2 separate regions of the Homo sapiens genome follow, and region 2 is linked to region 1. The links are contacts of gene promoters, found by promoter capture Hi-C in blood cells and fetal thymus (Javierre and others, 2016). All regions are on one chromosome and are shown on one strand. Each heading gives the region's core, a stretch centred on a gene start or on the middle of the fragment in contact. The rest is flanking DNA. Distances are from core to core; before and after follow the strand shown. Region 1 holds the start of TLR8 (toll like receptor 8). Region 2 overlaps PRPS2 (phosphoribosyl pyrophosphate synthetase 2).

Evidence for each region. Contacts are between HindIII fragments. The CHiCAGO score rates a contact against its expected background, and 5 or more counts as called.
Region 2: a contact is called between a fragment that was not itself captured here and the fragment with the promoter of TLR8 in region 1, in 1 of 17 cell types (monocytes). The highest score is 5.1, in monocytes.

What each region holds. Positions count from the first base shown.
Region 1 is chrX:12,903,779-12,910,449 of GRCh38, reverse strand. It overlaps TLR8 (toll like receptor 8), which reads right to left and starts at 3,830. Exons shown (of 2, transcript NM_138636.5): 1 at 3,741-3,830. The coding sequence starts at 3,743. TLR8-AS1 (TLR8 antisense RNA 1) reads left to right here. Exons shown (of 5, transcript NR_030727.1): 3 at 2,117-2,234; 4 at 4,199-4,260; 5 at 6,465-6,671. The HindIII fragment of the contact is 3,594 bases long and covers 3,715-6,671 here.
Region 2 is chrX:12,793,365-12,799,938 of GRCh38, reverse strand. It overlaps PRPS2 (phosphoribosyl pyrophosphate synthetase 2), which reads right to left. Exons shown (of 7, transcript NM_002765.5): 2 at 549-732. Among named protein-coding and RNA genes, the nearest start is that of PRPS2, 5.2 kb to the right of the region's middle. The HindIII fragment of the contact is 1,610 bases long and covers 4,170-5,779 here.

The DNA.
Region 1 (6,671 bases), core at 2,581-5,080:
TTTTTACCTTTTTAGTCTCCTTTCCCAGGCTGCAGGAGCTATTTTGCAAAGATGACTCCTTCATTCTCCCTTTCAAAGGCTTCCTTCAAGGTCTCCTGGGATGGGTCTTGCTGATGTTCCCTAACACTGAAGTGTCAAGAGAACCTATTGATTATAACATGTAATTAATCTCCTCAGTTGAATTACTTAGCTGCTTCAGCACAATGTTTGGATTCAACCAGAGCTGAATTTTTGCCAGACTGGAAATAGTTCTAATTTTTGATGGATTCTGATTCATTCGCAGTTAACAATGTTGACCACTGATACATGATGAAAGGAAATTAAGAAATGGTTATGCAGGTAGGATTTGTCACTTTAGATGAAATTTACAATTAATAATAGATACTTTATTTTACCCATCCCAAATTCAATGGATTCACTAACAGCTTTGGAAGACAAAAGAAAACATGACCACATTAAGTGCACTTATCATTAAAGAGATGGGTCCTGACTTAACATACACAAAAATATGAAAAACTGTGTTACTGGATGCTGGGAAATAGGGTAGGGAGCATTTGTTTAATCCTCAGAAACAAAAACAAAAACAAAAAAACCCAAAGAAGTCCATGAGGCCCCTGCTTTACAGACATGGGACCTGAGGCTCAGAGAGATGAATGTTTTCAAGGTCACTCAGATGGTAGGTGGTAGAGTTGAAAGTGACCCTAGATTTACCTGAGTAGTTAATGAATTGGGAGGGCTGAAGCCAAGGGGCTAGTTGGCCATGATCTGGTTTCAGTGATCAGCAGAGACCTGATAGCCCTATGTGGAACCTCCAAGACTCAAATGCTGGTGGCGGATTTTCCACGTTCCCTTTCTGCACTGAGCAGGCTACCACAGAGAACTTCCAGATTCTTTGTCATTCCTTAGAACCACAGGAAATCTACTGATTTTAGACATACACACCAACTAGCAGCTCTTTGTAACTTTCTGCAAAATCAACACAGCCTGTATCTGCTAATGCCAATCCAGAACCACAGGTTATGTATTTATATTACTGTGTCTTATAGCAGGGGTGTCCAATCTTTCAGCTTCTCTGGGCCACACTGGAAGAAGAAGAATTGTCTTGGGCCACACATAAAATACACTAACACTAACAGTAGCTGATGGGCTAAAAAACAAATGCATAATATTTTCAGAAAGTTTATGAATTTGTCTTGGGCTGCATTCAAAGCTGTCCTCGGCCATATGCAGCCCGCAGGCCGAGGGTTGGACAGGCTTGTCCTATGGTCTTGAGTAGTCCTAAATTGGGGCTACTAATTTAAAAATAACAAATCCCTCAACCCCATTTAATAACCCAGATGAACTCAGAGATGTTGCATTGGAATGACGTTCCCCTCAATGGAACCTGGAGGCGACACTATGATGCACTTACAAATAATGTCCAACTGCGTTTCAAAGACTAACTGTGGGTAATGACATCCTTCCCTGTGAAACACACCCTAATATTCTGTGAGTCTGGGGTCTTCCATAAGACTGCTTTCTCTTTCATAATCTCTGAGATTCTTAGATTATTATAATGAAAGGATGAGAAGCAGTGATTGAAAGAGGAGAATGAACTCCATCAACTGCCCTCACTCTTATCTGCAGTCTCAGCTTTTCAGAGAAAGCATACTTAGAACTTCTATTTTGCTTTCTAAAATCAAACCAAGGTGGCTGGTAAATACATTTCAGCTCTTCCTGGAGCATTTCTAGCCACCTAAAAAAACGGACTGTGCTTTTTAACAAAAGGACCAAAAAACTGTTGATGTTCTAAGGCACTGATTCTTAACTTTGGCTGCACAGTAGAGATACTTAGGAACTCTAAAAGCTACAAATGCCAAGCCCTGTATCCAGAGATTTTGGTTTCATTGATCTGGGGTTCAGTCTGGGCAGCAGGAGTTTTGAAAGCTCCCCCTCTGATTTGAGTCCATTGCGAAGGCTAACAACCTCTGCCTTTAGGCAGGAGGTCAGCCAGGTCCTTGACCTCCATTGGCCACCAGTGGGAGCAAAGTGGCCATTTTTTGCAAGTTTAATTTGATTTTATTATTACTCTATTTACCAATCTGTTGTTGTTGTTGTTGTTGTTGTTTTGAAACAGAGTCTTACTCCGTTGCCCAGGCTGGAGTACAATGGTGCGATCTTTGCTCACTGCAACATCCACCTCATGGGCTCAAGCGATTCTCCTGCCTCAGCCTCCTGAGTAGCTGGGACTACAGGTGCGTACCACCACACCTGGCTAATTTTTGTATTTTTAGTAGAGACGAGGTTTTGCCGTGTTGACCGGGCTGGTCTCTACCTACTGACCTCAAGTGATCCGCCCACGTCGGCTTCCCAAAGTGCTGGGATTATAGGCGTGAGCCACCGGGCCCCGGCTATTTACCACATTCTTACAGTACAATTATACTGGCTATCACAGCAGCTTACAAATATCAAGTAGGAATTGGATAATTTCAACTGCAATCCCATATGTGTCATTGGCCCAGTTGACCGAATTCCATATGGGCCACCTACAGTCATTTTGTAAAGCATTGTAAAATTTTAGTGCAGAATTAATTTACCTTCAAGATCCATAATGAACATTAGGTGGGTATAAAAATTAACTTCAGGCCGGGCGCGGTGGCTCATGCCTGTAATCCCAGCACTTTGGGAGGCTGAGACAGGCGGATCACCTGAGGTCAGGAGTTCGAGACCAGCCTGGCCAACATGGAGAAACCCCGTCTCTACTAAAAATACAAAAATTAGCCAGGCGTGGTGGCACACACCTGTAGTCCCAGCTACTTGGGAGGTTGAGGCAGGAGAATCGCTTGAACCCGGGAGGCGGAGGTTGCAGTGAGCTGAGATCACGCCACTGCACTCCAACCTGGGTGGCAGACCCATTAACTTCAAAAGACTTAAGTGTACTTTAAATTGTTGTCAAAATTAACTCCAAGGACTTTGGGGAAAAATATATAGTACATTTTGGATGAGACTCTCTTGAAATCAGACTTTTCAATTGCTCTTAAACCTCATTGAATTTTCTAGAAAATGTATCATTTAAAAAGAAGTGTAAAGTTCATTTTTAGTCTGACAGTTCTTGACAATAACAAAAACGGACCACCTGCTATGTCTTGACAGTGTAAAATAATAATTACAGAAATTGTAGCATGTTATTAGGTTGGTGGAAAAGTAATCACAGTTTTTTGTACCAACCTAATTATTTAAAACTCTGACCAAGAAAAGTAGCAATTAATGTCGAACTTTAAGCCTCCAACAGTAGGTTAAGCTCAGGCTTCACTAGGATCTAGCAATTGACCTATGTATGTGAAGGAAGAGAGTTTGTCCTTTTCTACAGAAATAGCAAAGGAAGAATATTTCCCTCACCTTCTCTTCCAACCCTGTTGTTCTGGAAGAGGATATTGTCTCTGGTAGGGCCAGTAAGTAATATTTCCAGTTCAATTTCTAACTTGAAATTTTCTTATTTTCCTGTCCAAATTAGTAAGATCATCACTGCATTTGATTTTCAAAATTTACTCTCTAATTCCTTTATACTAACGTGTGCACAAATTAAAGATCATAGCAAGCCGCTTTACCTGCATTTACAGTTGTTTCGATCTTTAATTTTTATCCTTATTTGCCCATTTATTACTTTCTAGGCTCACACCATTTGCCACCAACCCAGATTTCTGGGTCAGAAACCCCATATTCTGTTGGAAAGCTTTGCTAAAGAAATAGAAGTGGCTTACCATGTTTCTGTTGTTCTAATTTTTCATTCCGTAACTTGCAGCAGCGCAGAATGGTACCCTCTATGCAGGAGGTGGCCGAGAAGAGAAACTGGCTAACTTCCTGAAATGGCTCTATTTACCATCAGCAGAACGTAGCGTGTGTTTTACAGAAGTTTACATGAAAAGAAGGGAACTTGTGATTTCTTAGCTGTTGCCAAATCATTAATTGACTGTGCTTTAAAACTTTGAAACTGAAGTTATGGGAAAAAGTCATTTATGAAATGATTTAAATACAACCCAAATCAGACACACACGACGTATTTTTGTTAGTTTTTGTGTATTTGTGTGTACAGGGGAGAAAAAGGGAACATTATTCCATTCACTAAGAAAACTTCAGTGTATTCTTTTTTAAAAAAGTTACCATAAATTTGTACTGAACTTCGGATTTCTCAAACTCGTCTTCCTTGTGTAATTCACAGATGTAGGCGAATAACATGAACATTGCTTCATCTTTGTTCCACAAGTTTCTGAGACAGCACCGGTAGGTATGGGTCTCCCTCCCACTGGGCTGTGGCCGCAAAGCGAGCATCTTTCTCCTGGGCGCCCCATGCCTCCTCCAGCACCTGGCATGTAGTATAAGCTCAATGAGTGTTCATTGTATGAACGAGTGAGTCAATGGCTGAGCATTCGTGAGGCTGGAAAATTTAATCTTCCCGATTTAGTCTGATAAATGGATTCCATTTTATGCTCGGAGAGCAAGGGCCTCAAAAGGTGTAACCAAGAGCAGAGGTCAGCAAACTGCAGCCTTTGAACGAAATCCGGCCCAGAAGTGAAAACATTTTTAGATGAACATTGGCAATGGATTTGCTGATACAGAACACTAACTTTAAATTCCAACCAAGCAGAATGTTAGCACCTCCAAAAATGATTCCATTCTTCTCATTATTAAACCTATACTACAAAAAAACTGCCTTCGATTATTATTATTACATTTTGAGTTTCATCAATTACATAATTGTGGAAATTTTTATTTTACTATATAAGTAGCTACATAATATGCCAAATTTGCTTCTTGGCCTGTAAAACCTAAGATATTTGCCATCTGGCCCTTTACAGAAAAAGTTTGCTGACCCCTGGCCACAAGAATAAAGTTTAGAACGGGATGTGATATGTTTCATCTTGCCTTACACCCCAGGAGTGGGAGAAAACCAAATTGGCAGCAGGGTGGGCAGAGATGACATCCATATATAAATGGACTGTGGAACACCTTGTTATGAAGGAAGGCCTGTCAGCAGTCAAAGAATGGCTTGGGTGGGTATACCTAGATGGACCTCTAAAGATCACACCCTAAGGGAATTCAAGACCTGGTGCATGGTTTGAGAGGTGATTCCTGTGACATCAGAGAGTGCAGCCTGGGCCTTCATGGGCAAACCAAAAACATTTGTGATTGTAAACCCAAAGGCCTCGGCTGGCCGCATCCAAGTCTCTTGGTTTCCCTCCAAACATTTGCTTGGAAATAAAGTAAAGAAAGTAAGTAAGAATGGATCGAGTGCAGTGGCTCACACCTGTAATTCCAGCACTTTGTAGAGGCCGAGGCAGGAGGATCACTTGTGCTCAGGGGTTTGAGACCAACCCGGGCAACATGGCAAAACCTTGTCTCTAAAAAAATACAAAAATTAGCCAGGCATGGTGGTGTGCACCTGTAGTCCCAGTTACTCGGGTGGCTGAGGTGGGAGGATCGCTTGAGCCCAGGAGGTGGAGATTGCAGTGAGCCATGATAGTGCCACTGCACTCTAGCCTGGGTGACAGAATGAGACTTTGTCTAAAAAAACAAACAAACAAACAAACAAAAAACAGCGAAGTAAAAATGACTTCCAGCCGTTGACTGAGCAAGGATCCTTGGAACTGGAGAGTTTGTCAGCTTTCTAGAAAAGCGAGACTCACATACCCTGGCTTCTAGGCCACCAAGTGTCAGCCAATTGTAGACCAGTCAATTGGCCTTGTAAAGCATGCTTGTATACGTATATATATATATGTGTGTGTGTGTGTGTGTGTGTGTGTGTGTGTATCATCATGTATATATGATATATATATATTTTTTATGTACATATGCATGTTTATATGTATATATACACACATACAGTCTAGTATCTATGTCAAGCAAACTCATAAAAATGAGTTACTTACTTATACCAAATGAGCCTTCAGTTTTCTCCACACAACCAGTACCATAAAAGATGAAAATGAAAATGGAATTGACACCAGGGCAGGAAGGTTACTGAGAGGAAGAAGCTCCATCTGCTTGTAAAGTAGCCAGATGATTGGCTTCTGCCCAAGCCCAGAAACTGGTCCTTGGTGGCCAGGTCTGCTCTCCCCACCCTGCACTGTGAGGCCAAAAGCTCCTGGGCATCTCCTAGACCAATCTTTCCTTACTCTTCCCCTTGCCATCCATGCTGACACAGATCTTGATTCCAAAATGGAGAAGACCTGTCATGAACCGCTTCTGCCAGGCAAGCCTGCCAGACAACGTGCACTTCCCAGACACACAAATCACCAGCAGACAAGCCTCTCTGAGCCTTAGTTTTCTCATCTGTCAAATTGGGATAAGAATAGTAGTATCTTTCTCAGATGTTGGCTTTGAGGATTAAATTGTTCATATCGTGGAACTCTTAGAAAAGTAGCTGGCACAAAGTGAGCGTTCAACTAGCAGAGCTGGAATTATTATTACTACGCTTGTTGTTACAGACTTCACACATTCCTGGGCTGTTGCCAACAGTAGGCCTGAAGAACCACTCTTGGGGCCTTCCCCAGCCCTGGACACAGCCCTTTCCTCTCGAGTGGATGACCAGACAATTCATAAGGCAGCAAATGGCTTCCCCATACTGGGGCTGCCGCGAAGTACCACATATGGAAATAACGTGCAACCCTGGAAAAAGCTCAAGGTCTGGGAAA
Region 2 (6,574 bases), core at 3,725-6,224, 110 kb after region 1:
TCTGTTCTTTTTAAAAGGTTAAAAAGAGATCATGGGTTTTTTTTTTAATTAAACTTTTTATTTCGGGGGAATTGTAGATAGACATGCAGTTGTATGAAACAACGCAGAGATCCTGTGAACCTTTTACCTAGTTCCCTGTGGTAACGTCTTGTGAAACTATAACACAGTATCACAGCCAGGACCCTGAAATTGATACAATCCAGTGATCTGATTCAGATGTGCTCTAGTTTGACTTGTACTCTTGTGCATGTATGTGTGTGTATTTAGTTCTATCCACCACCACAAAGACATACAATAATTTCATTATAACAAGGACAATAATGGTATTTTAATACCTGCAAAAATATGCATTACCTGTTTCTTTGAATATTAATGTCAGGGTAGGTTCAAAGCCAAATCTTCAACAAACAAAATAAGAAAGCATATTTACTTGATCATCAAAGGAAAAAGCCAACATTTTCCAGATAATTCTAATCAAGGGGATAAATGAGGAAAAACAACATTGACAGTGGCCCACAGCAGGTTTCTAGGGCACACACCTCTCCTACCTTGTCCTTTTTATCTTGTCGGGCGTATGGGAAACACGGGATCACGGCAGTTACTCTGGATGATGACGCAATCTTGCAGGCATTGATCATGATGAGGAGTTCCATCAGGTTGTCGTTAATTTCCCCGCAGCCGCTCTGGATGATGTAGACATCTTCCCCTCTCACGCTTTCACCAATCTCCACGCTAGGAAAAGAAAACTGCCATCGGTTAATATCGAAGCATATTTGCATCTTGGGCGTCCCTGAGACCACCCCTAGGTTTGATGATCACCAGGATGACTTATAGGACTCAGCCTAATAGTTGCACTCATGGCTGTAATTTATTGCAGAGAAAGGACACAGAGCAAACTCAGCAAAGGGAAAAAGGTGCATGGGGTGAAGTTGGGGGAAACAGGGTGCAAGCTTCCAAGACTCCTCCCTGAGGGGAGTCAGAGGTAGAGCTTAATGCCCCAGTAGTGAGCTGTGACAACACGTGTGAAGGGCTCTCTACCAGGGAAGCTGCTTAGAGACTCAAGTCCCAGGGTTTGTATTGTGGGCTGGTCATATAAGCACCCTCTGCCTAGCACGTACCAAAATGTCAGACTCACAGGCATTCAGCATGAACCACATTGTTTATCAATTGTTTAAGAGTTTATGCAGTGAGCCATCCTTACTGGGAAATGGTGGGTACCCTTGCAAAATGTAAGCTCCCAGAGGCCAGCCAAGGGCCAACCTTGCGAACAGGCCTAAGTCTCAGGCCTGCTAATGTTAACTCTTTTCTGCAAAATACTACATTTAGTTTTAGTTTTTTATTAAAGTTATACAGTCATATTGCTTAAAAAATTCAAACCATTCTGTAAGACGTATAACAGAGAAAGTGCCCAGAGGCCACCAATTTCAACTCTTGATAGGGTTTTTGGATACTTTCCTTCAAGTCTAGCTACTATGTGTGTATTGCTGTGTCTTGATTTTTCATTTTAGGCAAAGTGTATTGACTTCTCACTATGGAAGATGAGGACTGAACTCCATTTCCATTCAGTTCCATCACTTGCAATGTAAACTTCCCATCTCGCCATCATCCCAATATAGATCAATATTCACATTAAAGATTGACTGTACGTTTTTAACTGCGCAAATGCTGCTCAGAGCTCTGCCATGCAATTAACTTAAACGAATGCTTGTATTTTCTTTTTATGCACATCTTTTCTTTTTATTTTCCCTGGAGGTCATTCTCTTACCTTTTTATCTGCTAAGTTTTCTGAATCCTGAATCCAGATTCCACCCTAAACCCTTCACTAACAATCAAAATCTCCCAAGATCAGAGGCCTCAAGTCCCATCTGCATTTCATCGTCTTGCAGGCATCCCTCCCAGGGGTGGCAGGCCTGGGTTATCTCTCTGCCTGTGCACAGCTGCCATCCGGGGATTCCCTGCCCCCTCTCCTGCACTCCATTTGCCATTTTCTGTATCCTCTTTCTTGGTATACTTCCTTGTTTTGCTGGTTGGCATCCTTGCGTAGCTTCTGGAGAAAGAGTAAATAGCAGCTAAGTTTTTGAAAATTGCATGTCTGGAAGTTTCTGTATTTCCAGGTACAGAATTCTGGATGTCCAACATGAGAGGGAGAGCCAGCTCATCCCTGGCATATTCCTTTGGTGGGAAGAAACAGAAAATAGTGCTGTGTGCTCAGGCATGTCCTTCCCAGAGCTCTGCGTCCAAACCAAGAAGATGGTCAGCTCTGCTATGTTTTGAAAAGGCAAATTTGTTCCAATGATTGATATTATTTGGAACAATTTGAGCATAGCATGAATTTCATGTTTTCTTATGCACAACCTCTTATCCCGAGACTGCAGAAAACTGCAGTGTACCCAGCTGAATGGAGCCACTTAGAAATACACAAACATACACATGTACACACCTCGAGGACAATGAGCCACACTCATTCACATTTGGTGTCACAACTTTTCATGTCATTTCAGAGAACCCTAAACCTCAGGCATTTTTCAATGGAAAGTTCCATCTCTGTCATAATATTTATGTAATTTTTTTTTTTTTTTTAAAGACAGAGTCTCACTCTGTTGCCCAGGCTGGAGGGCAGTGGTGACATCTCAGCTCACTCCGACCTCTGCCACCCAGGTTCAAGTGATTATCCTGCCTCAGCCTCCCGAGTAGCTCGGATTACAGGCATGCACCACCACGCCTGGCTAATTTGTTGTATTTTTAGTGGAGGGAGGTTTTGCCATGTTGGCCAGGCTGGTTTTGAACTCCTGACCTCAAGTGATCCGCCCACCTCAGCCTCCCAAAGTGCTGGGATTACAGACGTGAGCCATTGCACCCAGCCAGTATTTTTTGAGCATGTAATACATGTCAGTGTTTTACCATTTTGATAGGAACCCTAATCCGAAATTCTGAAATCCGAAACTTTCTGAGTGTCGACATCATGCTCAAAGGAAATGGTCATTGGAGCATTGTGGATTTTGGATTTTTGGAGATTTGGAATGTCCAACCAGTAAGTACAATAGAAATATTCCAAAATGCAAAAAAAAAAAAAAAAAAAAAAAAAATCTGAAATACTTGTTGTCCCAGGCATTTCTGATAAGGGATGCTCAATCTATATAACATTCCTATGATTTTTTAATGGGTCACTGAGGAAGTTTTTGAATGTTATGTCCCTAACCCCATTTTTCTCATAAGCCCTGTGGTTTTGGATTGCCTGATTTTGCATAGCGTGGTAATTTTTAGGAATACATATGTCACATTATGGCAGAATTGTCTGTAAATTTATTCATCCCAAAATGAAATATTTTAAAATTACAAATAAGGAACATGAATAATTATCCTTCTCTCTTCTCCTGCTATCAGATACTCAATGAAATTGTTTTCTTAAAAGAGCCAATTAAGGCTGGGCGCGGTGGCTCACGCCTGTAATCCCAGCACTTTGAGAGGCCAAGGTGGGCTGATCACCTGAGGTCTGGAGTTCTAGACCAGCCTAACATGGAGAAACCCCATCTCTACTAAAAAATACAAAATTAGCCAGGTGTGGTGGTGCATGCCTGTAATCCCAGCTACTCGGGAGGCTGAGGCAGGAGAATCACTTGAACCCGGGAGGCGGAGCTTGCAGTGAGCTGGGATCGCACCATTGCACTCCAGCCTGGGCAACAAAAGTGAAACTCTGTCTCAAAAAAAAAAAAAAAAAAAAAAAAGAGCCAATTATACCTAATGAAAATTTAAAAACAGGCTGGGCATGGTGGCTCATGCCCACAGTCCCAGCTACTTGGGAGACTGAGGCAAGGGGATTGTTTGAGCCCAGGAGTTCTAGTCCAGCCTGGGCAACATAGCAAGACCCCGTCTCTAAAAAAAATTTTAAAGAAAAGGAAAATAAAAATAAAGTTTTTCAAGTTGACATGTTGTGAAAATTAGTTTTGATAACATTCACACATCTTCTTGCACGCCTTCTACTATGGATGAAAATATGCCAACCTCACAGGATGAGGGGGATAGAAAGAGTTCTATGTGCTCCCTCCTATTTGAAGATCTAAGGAGCTAAATCTAACTGCTTTGTGAACACTACATCAACTATGACATAAACTTAATTTGGAAATTGCTATGGTTTAAATGTGTTCCCTAAAGTTCATGTGTTGAAAGCTTAATCCCCAGTATAGGAGTATTGACAGGTGAGACCTTTAAGAGGTGATTAGGTCATAAGGGCTCTGTCCTCACAAACGGATTAACGTCATCATTGCTAGAGTGTGCTCATTATCTTGAGAATGGGTTTATTATATTAGCAAATTTGGCCCTCTATTGCTCTCTCTCAAATATGCTCTCTTGCCCTTCCACCCTTCTGCCATGGGATGATGCAGCAAGAAAGCCCTTGCCAGATGCCAGCCCCTCAGTATTGGACTTCCCAGCCTCCAGACCTGTGAGAAACAAATTTCTATTGTTTATAAATTAGCCAGTCTCTGGTATTCTGTTATAGCAGCACAAAATGAACTACAGCAGAAATCAAGTACAGTATTATATAGCTGAGAGGTTGACAAAACACAGCACATAGGCTGTTTTTCTATGGCCTGTGAGTTAAGAATGGCGTGGTAGGCAGAATAATGGCCCCCTAAAGATGTCTACATCCTAATCCTTTGAATATGTGAGTTTATATGGCAAAGGGGAAGTAAATTTGCAGATAGCATTCAGGTTGCTCATCAGCTGACCTTAACATGGGGAAATTATCCTGGATTATTTAAATTGGCCCATTGTAATCATGGGGCCCTTAAAAATGCAAGAGGGAGACAGCAGAAGCAGGGTCAGAGCAACATTTTGTTGCTGACATTGAAGGTGAAGAGGCCAATAGTGAAGGAATGTGGGCTGCCTCTGGAAACCGGAAAAGGCACGGGAACAGATTCTCCCCTAGAGCCTCAGAAGAGAATACAGCCCTGCTAACCTGTGACAGACATTACCGTAACTTACAGAACTGTAAGATACCGCAGCAACAGAGACTACATGTGCTAGCACTGCCTAAAATATTTACGATTTGGCCCTTTGCAGAAAAACTTTGCCAACTCCTGGTCTTATGACGTTTATCCCACAAGATTAGATTCTTTGGCCTGTTTTTACTCAGGAACCTCAGTTCTCATATGACTAGCAGTCCAGGGGAGGACAGAGAATATCATCACCATGGCAACTTTTCCCCTAAAGCTAGTCCTGCTTCTACTCAAAAAGATGATCATGACTACCTTTATTCTAGGTCTTTAAAAAATTGTGGCTAGAAGGCAGCATCCATTTGCCATTCTGCCAGAGGATCTTTATTGACCCCCAAATAAAAACGCTGAAGAGCGTCACTGACTCAACAATAAACGGGCATGGTAACTAAAAGATAGCCACAGACTCTTAACACATTTCCCATCAAGGAGCAGGGTCTAGTCTCCCGCCCTTGAATCTGAGAGGGCTCTGTACTTGCCCAACAGCATATGACAGAAATTATGATACACCAACTTGCAAGCCCAGTCCTTAATGGACTGGTGGCTTCAATGTCCTGTCTTTTGGAACATGTGCTCTTAGAACCCAGCTTCCATGCTGTAAGGAAGCTCAAGCAGCCCCATGGAGAGGCCTACAAGAAGAGGAGCTGAGGTTCCTAACCAAGCTCCCAGGCAAAAGCTAGTAACAACTTCAGTCATGTGAGCCATCTTCAAGAACCCTCCAGCCCCAGTTAGCCGCCTCAGCTGTGACCAGCCTCAGCTGTGACCATACGCGGCAAAAACAAGCTTTCTTCACTGAGCCCTTCCCAAATTGCAGATTTGTAAGCCAAATCAACAATTACTGTTTTAAGCCATTAAGCTCTTTATTTATTACATGGTAACCGATAACCTTGTATAACTTTGCATAACCTTGTCTCACAGTATAGCTAAAGATTCTGCCAGCAGGTTAACTGACCATAGTAAAATGTTACAACAGAGACATCTAGACACCTGCTGTCCTAAGATGTCATCATGGAATTTCCATGGTCTATAGTGAAGCTGGAGCGGACCTCTCCCTGCATATCTGAAATGATTTAGGGATAAGAAGGTAAAATTGGAAGGCTCTATGTTCAGTAAAGTAGCATATAAAAAACGCAAAATGGGAGGATTGATGGCCAGGAGACAGCAAACCAGATTTCTGATCCTAGTTCAGTGACAGATTCAAGAAGGGGCCCTTACATGAACTGAATCAATTTTGTCTTCATTTTGCCCTTCAGTTTTTCCTCTCTACGATTACACAGCTAAAAGCTGGATTCCTAGCACAGTAACTGGTCCAGAGAGGGCTGTTTATAAAAATTAAGCTCTGTACTTGTACAGTTCATGGAAAAGAGAAAAGTCAGGCAGTGAACCTTTTATACTCTATACATTAAAAACATAAAATGTAGCTATATAGGCAATTCCCAAACTTCATGCTGAGTGGTTTTTGAGGTCCCACGATTTCTAATTATCAAGTGATGGTTATAAAATGCCAAAAACAAAATAAAAGTGAGTCTGCTTTATATTTGAACCAAATGTATAAACAATCATACTTCAGTGTCTGAGTG